Linked DNA regions of Homo sapiens: region 2 is linked to region 1. Evidence: promoter capture Hi-C in 16 types of primary human blood cells and fetal thymus (Javierre and others, 2016). All regions are on one chromosome and are shown on one strand. The core of a region is centred on a gene start or on the middle of the fragment in contact, and the rest is flanking DNA. Distances in the headings are between cores, read along the strand shown. Region 1 holds the start of PRKCE-AS1 (PRKCE antisense RNA 1). Region 2 overlaps PRKCE (protein kinase C epsilon).

Region 1 (4,560 bases), core at 721-3,220:
AGCTACTCGGGAGGCTGAGGCAGGAGAATGGCGGGAACCCGGGAAGCGGAGCTTGCAGTGAGCTGAGATTGCGCCACTGCAGTCCGCAGTCCGGCCTGGGCGACAGAGCGAGACTCCGTCTCAAAAAAAAAAAAAAACAACAACAACAAAAAAAAAAACAAAAAAAAAACCTTCACTGGCTCCTCCATAACCCTCAGAATAAAGCCCAAATTCAAGAGTTGCTATCCACCTAAAGTGGCCTCTCGTGATTCCAGGGTTAAATCGGAAAGAAGGAAGGAAGCAGGGAGGGAGGAGGAGAGGGAGGAAGATCAATGGCAGCTGACAAAAAACAGCTTACTTGTCCCCATGCCCCCAACCTACTCCCACCCCCCACAGTACTTCGCAGTAGTCACATTAAACTGTCTCCAGTTTCTCCTTTCAGGTCTCTGCTGAAATGTCGCCTTCTCCCAAAAGCCTTCCCCAACTCCCCATGTCTAGTTTGGGGCCCTTTTGGGTACTCTGGTGGCATACATCACAGGGCTTTATGAACTATGTCATAATTGCCTGTTTGAGTATCTGTCCCCCAATTGGAGCATGAGCCCTCTGAGATTAGGGTACCTATCTAGGCATGTTCCTGGTTATATCCCAAGACCTAGCTTGATGGCAGGGGCTCCCTAATGATTTATTAAATGAATGATCTAGAAACTATGAAGAAAAGAGGAAAGAATGGAGACACTTGATACCTCCTTCCTTCCCCAACCAGCAGTGACTGACCACAGAAGGATGGGCCTGCATGGCCTTTACTCGCTCCCTCCTTAGAACCTGAGCTGAGCCTTCTATTACTCTCTTCATTATCACAACCTTTCATCACAATGGGGCAATATGTATGTCCAGTCAAGAATGAAACAGGCAATGGTGTTTGTACGGACTGGGCTACTTCCATGTATGGATCAGAGTTTATATCCCAATAGAACCATCTTCCTCTCTATCCATACTCTAGTCTTATAAACTTAGTTTTCCTGTTAATGCAAAAATATAATCCTTATTGACGTCATTCTGACCTGCATGTATTAAGAGAGGAAAAGGCTCTGTATCCTTTAAGAAATTATTAAAATGTTTTAAATTGTTTTGTTGCACTGGTTTCAGTTTAAAAGATCTCTTTTGCACAGCAACACTTCAATCACTAGAATACTTGCATTATGAGGCAAATAGTTACAAGAAACAGGCTGCTGGGGGAACAAGCACAGGTGAGCAATGGAAGGTCAACAGAGCCAAACACGCGGCAGAGAAGCAACAGAGGGTTCCATCTTGAGACTGGGAAACTTACCACTGATAATGACCATGTAATGACACCCCCAGTGAAGCTATCCTGAGGCTCCCTGTACTTCACAAGGCCAAGAAAATCCCGTCACGCCAATGGTAAACAACTTCTCAAAACAAACAAACAAAAAAACAAGTCAAGCATTGGTGTCTACTAGGCCATGATTTTAGAGCCAATGTAGAAAACATTGTAGGAGCTACTGCCAGGTACCGGTGCTGCTTGAATAAAAGCGTGGAGTGGAGGCAGCAACTATTGAAAAAGGGGAGTAAAATGCTGAGACGCTTCCACAGCCAAAGTTCACCCCTCCCCACCCACCTATCCTGCCAGCTGGAGGCTTCCTGGTGGAAGGCCACCTCTCACCAAAGTCAGGCCCATCTGTGAGCTGAGGGCCAGCTCCCCGGAGACCCCTGGGAATTCTGAGCAGTGCCAGATGACAAGCAGAGGCCTGAACTCTTCTGGCATGACCTTGGGCCCAGTACCTCCCCGCCTCCCCTCCTCCCACCTACAGTGATTAAAGATAACCCAGCCAAGCAGCCTGGCATGTTGAAAAGGAGCAGGGCTGGAGGGAAATGAGGAGGACCAAACCGGGAAATGCACCACTGAATTTCCTCAAACCACATGGACCTTAAAACTCGTCAGACCGGTTTAAAATTAGCCAATACCCAGGAGAATAATTCATTAAATGCAACTGTTATGATTCATTTAGAATTCACTCCAATTCTGAAATGATAAATGACAGTGCATTTATGTATAAATGACAGTGTATTCATCTCCCCAAAGCTGGTCACAAGTGCCCTCACTGCTCTGGAGTAAAACATGGGCTAGAAACAAGGAAGCAAAGACTTAAAAACAGCATCATGTTTATTCACTGGAGAAAAAGGTGAGCTGAGAAGAGCTGAAGGCCTGGGCTAAGGTGCTAAGGGGCACGCTGGGTCTTCCTGGTCTGGGGAAACGTTTTCTGGAAAGGAGACGGCTTAATGTACATCTACAGAGTGTTTTCTTGTGCTATTTTGTTTTGTAACTTACAGGGGATTTTTCTCTTTATAATTGATGAGGTCCAGTCTCCAAGATCTGCCTGCTGTCTTCCTGGTCAGCCAGGCTTGGAAACTCTCACCTCATCCCTTCCTTTCCTTCTCTGACATTTAATCAGCATTGAATTAAAATTAGGCATATGGATCACCCAAGGCAAATGGAAATTAAGATACTGGATTTATAACATGCATAATCCAAACACAGAAAATCTTGCTACCAAAAATAATCATGTCTCTCATCCATTTCCCAGACAAACAGTTCAACTGCCTGCTTCACTTTGCCTTCAAGTTTATCAAGATGAGGCCGAGAATTCTCATAAACTCCTCAAGGACACCAAAAGGAGTTCCTGTAGACTCACTCAGAGTCCTTTCCCTCCTCTCCCTCAAGCAGTGCCCACCTCTTTTCAGGAAGCATCTTCTCTTTTCCATTTGACTTTCATAAAGAAGCTGGAGTTTTATTTTTCCTTGGCCTCCAATCTGTGCTTTGGGCTGTGCCATAAAATTCCTCAGTAATTTATGACCTGTTTTTCCTTTAAAGTGGAGAAGCACTAATCCCTCACAGAGTGGGGAGACAAGCATTTCCAAAGTGAGGTAATCTAGAAATATATGCACTGACCACAGTGAGTTGGGCCCTGACTTACAATTGAAGGCTCATGTAAAGATCCCTAGCCCTTGACACAGAGTATGATCTCAGAAATAGCCTGGTCTCCAGTTAGTACCTGGTTTGACAGAGTCCTCTTGACCCAAAAGTCCATCTTTTCCTGTCACTGATATCTGAAAATTCCAGACATTGCCATGTCACCCTCCAGATAAAGGAAGGCCTCCTCCACAGCACTCTTCTAAAGCACCAGTCTTATATATCTCATTACGGCCATCTACCTCAGTGTAAATGAGTTTATACTCAGCCAAGAGGAAGTGAGGAATCCTGGCTGGGCCCCAGGCTTGGAGGGGCTCAGAAGTGGAAGGAGCGTGCACAAAACCTGAAATCAGTCTTTGACTCCTTCACATTTTCGCCGCAAGTCAACCCCAATGATCACGCTTACATCTTTGCAAGTAGCTTTTAAAAAATATTTTCCAATAAACACAAGGAAATGAAATATTGAGATACACCTTCAAAAGAGAGTTGATGAGCAGCAAACATTCTGGGTCCAATCAAGCAACAATTGATTTGTGAACAGAAGGAGCAAGAGTTCAATTGCACTTGGATAATATTCACCCTGACCTGATTCAGGAAAGAGGAGGAAGAGTGGGTCTCTGTCCTCAGCCAATGTAATTCCATAGGAACGATCCCTGGAACCATGATATTGGCTTTGCTACTGCTTTATAAATGTCACTCACTAAAGACAGAACAAGGATGAACTCCTAGAATATTATTCAGAAAATCTGGCTAATAGGGGCCTTGTTTGCACTTCTATTTTCATATACTCTACAAACACTTGTTCAACCTAAGCTTTTCTCTCTTCTGTAGTCAAGTGTCTATAAACAACACTTGGGATCCTAGTTTAAAAAACAAAGTTTTAGTCTTTATGATAAAAATATTAACATAAATGGATAATGATTATTTCCTCCTCACCATGTTAGTTTCTCTTGGCCAGCAGCCCTAAATATGTCGTATTAACTTTAAATAGTAGGGTCCAGATTCTAAGACAGTGTTTCCCAAATGACATCAAGAGATGTAAGTACTGTCCCTAAATGTGTGTTGAACAATCAAATACAGTTGGAAACACTGCTCGCTCAATTGCCATCCAGAAAACTGATGGAAAATAGCCTATCGAAGGCTGTAAAAAAAAGTCCTGCAATAAATGTTTAGCTTCATTTACTCTATGGTTTTCCAAATTCACTTGATTATGGCATTCGTTTTTGAGTGTGAATGACCTATTCACTTCTTATATTGTTTGGAACACATTTTGGGAAACCCTGCTCCAAGGGAAGAGTTACAACTTGAAAGGAAGAATCTACCATTGCAGTAGGCTGATTGAATCACAAAAGTCAAAGTATCCTGACACTCCAGAGAGTTCAGAAAGTAGGGGGAACAAAAACAATGTAACCCAAAAAAAGGAGTGGAGGAGTCTTTAAAAAAAAATCTCTCACTGTGGTTTTTGGTTTGTTTGTTTGTTTTTATTAGAGACAGGGACTTGCTCTGTTGCTCTGCTGCCCAGGCTGGAGTAGAGTGGTGCCATCATAGCTCACCACAGCCTCAAACTCCTGGGCTCATGCAGTCTTCCTGCC
Region 2 (4,803 bases), core at 1,924-4,423, 270 kb before region 1:
GAGATAGAGAAGTCCTTCAAATGGTCTTCCCCCATCAGTACAGGACATTCCACCATTAACAAGTCATTCTTTTCTGTCAAGGGGTTGTATAAAGACAGACAGCCCTGGCTTTGCCAGATGCCTGTGTTCTAATCTGGCCCCCCACCAGTGGAGCACAGTTATGCAGCATCTCTTTAAAACTTCTCTGAGGAAGGGGTAATAAGAGTACCTGCCTTGCAGGGGACTGTGAGGGTTGAACGTGATAGCTCATGGAAAGCACTTAGTATGGTGCCTGGTACATAGCATGTGCTCAACCAGTGACGGCTGTGGTTGTGGTGTAGCCTGGCTGATATAGTTTCGACGTTTGTCCTCTCCAAATCTGATGTTGAAGTGTAATCCCCAATGTTGGAGGTGGGACCTGGTGGGAGGTGTTTGAGTCACAGGGCGGATCCCTCATGAATGGCTTGGGGCTGTCCTGATAACAAGAGTTCTTACTCTGAGTTCACATGAGATCCAGTTGTTTGACAGAGTATGACACCTCCCCGCTCTTGCTTCAGCTCTCGCCATGTGACATGCTGGCTTCCCCTTCACCGTCTGCCATGATCGTAAGCTTCCTGAGGCCCTCACCAGAAGCCAAGCAGATGTTGGTGCCATGCTTGTACAGCCTGCAGAACTGTGAGCCAATTAAACCTCTTTTCTTTATAAATTACCCGGCCTCAATAATTCCTTTATAGCAAGGCAAGAATGGACTCACACAGCAGCCTTCCCCAGGTGTTCCTCTGAAACTGAAATCCTCACAGAACACATCTTACTCTTAATGCATTGGTGTGGCCATCGTTTCCCTGCCTAATGCGAGAAAGTTTTGGCAATGGAAGGCTCAGGAAGGGGGGAAGTTGAAAGAGGAACAAGAAGTGGAAGAAGCATTACTGGAAAGGAAAAGGGCAGGGATAGGGAAGGCTGAGGGCACAAAAACAGGTGTCCCCACTCTACCTAGGGCCACCTCTGTATCCATTTGCAAAATGGTTTCAAAGGGAATCCGCCAACCTAAATGTCCAAAGATTTATAAGTGAAGTCACTTGAGGTTTTTGTGTTTTTGTTTTTAAATTGAGGATTGCCCAGCACAGTGGCTCATGCCTGTAATCCCAGCACTTTGGGAGGCCAAGGTGGATGGATCGCTTGAGCCCAGGACTTCGAGACTAGCCTAGGCAACATGGCAAAATCCTGTCTCTACAAAAAAAAAAAAAAAAAAAAAAAAAAATTAGCCGGGTATGGTGGCACGCACCTGTAGTCCCGGCTACTTGGGAGACTGAGGCGGGAGTATCATTCGAGCCTGGGAGGCTGCGGTTGCAGTGAGCTGAGATCACATCACTGTACTCCAGCCTGGGCGACAGAGCAAGACCCTGTCTCAAAAAACTAAATACATAAAAATAAATTGAGGACGAATTTACATAAAGTAAAACGTACAGATCTTAAGTTTACGAGTCAATAAGTTTTGAAAACTGTATACCAGCATAGCCATCACTCCAGTCTGAGCTGTGCCTTAGATACTATACTGGCTCAACAGCATTTCCTGTAGAGCTCATGCATAAGGAATGCCTGCTGCTGGAGAGACGCTGAGGCTTTTCCTACAGCCCTGGAACCCTGAGGCACCCCACAATATGGGGAACAAAAGGAGCATCAAAAAGTCCGAATGGAGCAAATGGACAGCAGTCAAAGCAGAATGGAGGGAAGAAATGAGTCACCAACGAAGTGATTCGGGCCTAAAAGGCTTTGGGATCAATGAATCTAGTCAAGAATATGCATAGAATGGCCCTGCAGGGTTGCCAACATGGTTGAGTCCTGGAATAGATTCATAATACCTATATTCTTTCCACATCTGACTCAGCCATCGCCCCCACCATCTATCTGCCTTTGAACGAATCACATCACAGCTCAATGCCTCAGTTTCCAAAACTGTAAAACCACGTGAGTGGACCAAACACTCTGTGCCTTTTCTAGCTTGAACAACTTAAACAATCCTGCGTTGATGATCTAGACTGGGCAGTTTCACTGCGCGGTCACTCCAAATTCACCTTTGTTTACTTAACACAGACACAGCCTCCCCTGCTGCTGTCTGGTGCATTCTGCAAACTGGGAACTCTCCTGACAAAGGGGACCCAGAAAGCAGGAGAGGAGGCTTGGTTTCTGCTAAGACGTGTAACTTAGCTGACATTTGTTATATCCTGGCGTCTGGTGAGAACTTTATATTCTGTGTCCTCCTCAAAGGCCTCTGAGACAGTGGAACTGGAAAACATTTAAGACAGAAAAAAAAAGGCTCTGGAAAGAAGGAATTCTGGCATGTTTCTGGCATGTGTAACCTCAACCATTTTGAGTCTTTGTGGGAGAAAAATAGTTAATCTTGTAAAACTAAATTACAACTAACCTGCAAGATCAAGTCCAAATGTTAGCGCCCCCTGGCAGACCTTCCTAAGCCCCGGCTAGAGGGGCTCACAGTGAGTTCCGTGGCCCTCTGCCCTATCCCTCTTTTGGCAGATGTACTCTGAGCTATAGGACCCACGTGCAACTCCTATGTGCTGGCTTAGACGCTATGGTTCTAAACTTTCATAGACTGGGTAACTGCTTTGCACATGATGACTGCGAAATCATTTTTTAAATAAAGGAATAAATGAATGTTAGTCTGCTTTGGAGTATATTTAATTGTGTCCTTTAACAAAGGAATTTCTTTTCTACAATATTCAAAAGCAGAAAATTACCTAAAATGAGCTCTTAAAGCCTCCTGAATCTTCACAGCTGAATCCTAGCGCCGAGATACAATCATCCTCTTTGGCTAAAATGATTCATCAATTTACAAAATGCCATAAAAGTAGAAATATTATGTGAAATAAATGGGAATTATGATCACATGTATTTGTGCAACACTTCTAAAGTATATTAAGAACAGCAGCAGCTAACTTCTGGGGAGTGGAGAATAAGAGGTTGGGGGGACAACTTTTCTTTTATACTTTTAAAGCACTGTTACTGTTAAATGTTTTACTGTAAGCATATTTCCACTGATGTTTAATTAAAAATGAAGTTTACAGAAAATTTTGATATATATACTCATTTAGTTACATGTGTACTATAATAAACATAATGCATTATAATTCATTTTATTGTTGAAAAAAACTGAATCTCAAGAAGATTAAGTGACTTTTTCCAAGAGTTAATCGCAGAATCATAAAACAAAGCGTGCTTACACAACAAAGCACAGGAAAGAGAGGAATTTGTATTCCATTCGTGTTCTAATCCTTCCTGCGGGGACCTCGTCATTAGACCAACAGTAATTTACTGAGTGCACACCCTACGCCATCCCCTGCTGTTCCCCTCATGAGAGCCACAGGGACCTTTCACATCACAACGGCTGCACGTTCCTCATATATGACATGTCACACATAATATGACAACATTAATTATAATAACATTTACAAGAGACTTGCTCTTTTATATCCTCTCAATGGATTTCAGGGAGGAACATACTGCCTATATGATTTTTTTCTCACTTGCACAATTTGGAAGTCATCAGCCACATGATGTCATTCTCCTAACCCACATGTAAACTTTGAGGCATTTCAGGGTGCACCCAGATAAGCATTGTCTTTGGCCAGAAACGCTTCTCTAATTGGTGTTTTTGGACCTTAACTAGCACAACGATTCAGCCTGTCAACATGTAACAGGTAGAATTAGAATCAATGTCTTATAGCAACTGCCTCAGATCAACATGAGACGTAAATGTTTCAAAGCCTGGCTCCCATACATCTCTAAGCAAGAGTGCTCACATTCCATGGACCATGCCAGAGGTGCCGTACTTCAAACTAACAAATTCATAACAGCAATTAGGTTTGGTTTCTAAGCATGTGCTTTGACAGCTCTTTGAAAGATGGAGCCAACTCAGAAAAAAACTTCAGCTACCTGCAGCAGCCTCTTGCTTGATTCTCCTGTTTTAATCAGGGTAGAAGAGGTAAAACTCTCCTCCAGCTAGTGTATTTTATCCCAATAAAGAACCTCCCCCTCCCCCATAATTAATGAATCTATGACCTCCTAGACAGAACTAGCCAGGGAAGGCTGTCATGTAATCAGACCACTCTGGGACTCCAGTGGACCGTAGAGGTTATCTAGGCCCTAACTTCAAGTCCCTCCCAGGCTCTTCCAGTGCATGCTTGAATTGCTCAGTGACCCAGGCACCACTCAATTTACAAAAAGCATCTTTAGCTCAGCAGGTCCTCAGTCCCTCAACAGATGGAATTGTGCTGACTGAATCTCCCCTCCCCTTTGTTAATTCAACTGCCCATTCTTCAAGGTTCCGTTGAAGTTCTGTGTCTTCCTCAAAGCCCACCCCTTCACGGCCCTGCTTTCTCTGAGCTGCAGAGTCTAACGCTTTATAAACATCCGTCCGTGCCTGGTTTGATGTAGGTCTGTATGATCTCCCATTCCAAAGAGTAATAAGTTTCTTAAGGCTGGAGGCCACGTCTTTTCCTCTCACCTGCCCTCAGATCACCTAATCTATAGATGAATATACCAATGATGTCCATCCAATATTTGTTGAACATGCAGAAAATGCCCAGATCACTAAGCTCTGGTCACTGCACATGCACCACATGCTGGCTTCTTGAGGTCTGGGTCTGATCTCAGCCACTAGAATGGGTTAAATCCATGAGCAAGTGGCCACATGAGTGCTTCTTCAAGGGATTAACTAGGCTACTGTATTGCTTTCAGTTCCCAGGAGCATGTGGCCCTCTTTCGGTTAGTATATAAGTCATTTGTTCAGTAGGGAATAGGTGCCTATCA

The links. Contacts are between HindIII fragments. The CHiCAGO score rates a contact against its expected background, and 5 or more counts as called.
Region 2: a contact is called between a fragment that was not itself captured here and the fragment with the promoter of PRKCE-AS1 in region 1, in 1 of 17 cell types (naive B cells). The highest score is 5.7, in naive B cells.

Annotation. Positions count from the first base shown.
Region 1 is chr2:45,672,930-45,677,489 of GRCh38, reverse strand. It overlaps PRKCE-AS1 (PRKCE antisense RNA 1), which reads left to right and starts at 1,970. Exons shown (of 2, transcript XR_940049.3): 1 at 1,970-2,180; 2 at 2,583-4,150. The region is part of intron 1 of PRKCE (protein kinase C epsilon); the gene reads right to left. RefSeq lists a silencer at 4,512-4,560. The HindIII fragment of the contact is 8,353 bases long and covers 1-3,783 here.
Region 2 is chr2:45,941,090-45,945,892 of GRCh38, reverse strand. The region is part of intron 2 of PRKCE (protein kinase C epsilon); the gene reads right to left. Among named protein-coding and RNA genes, the nearest start is that of PRKCE-AS1, 270 kb to the right of the region's middle. The HindIII fragment of the contact is 5,163 bases long and covers 592-4,803 here.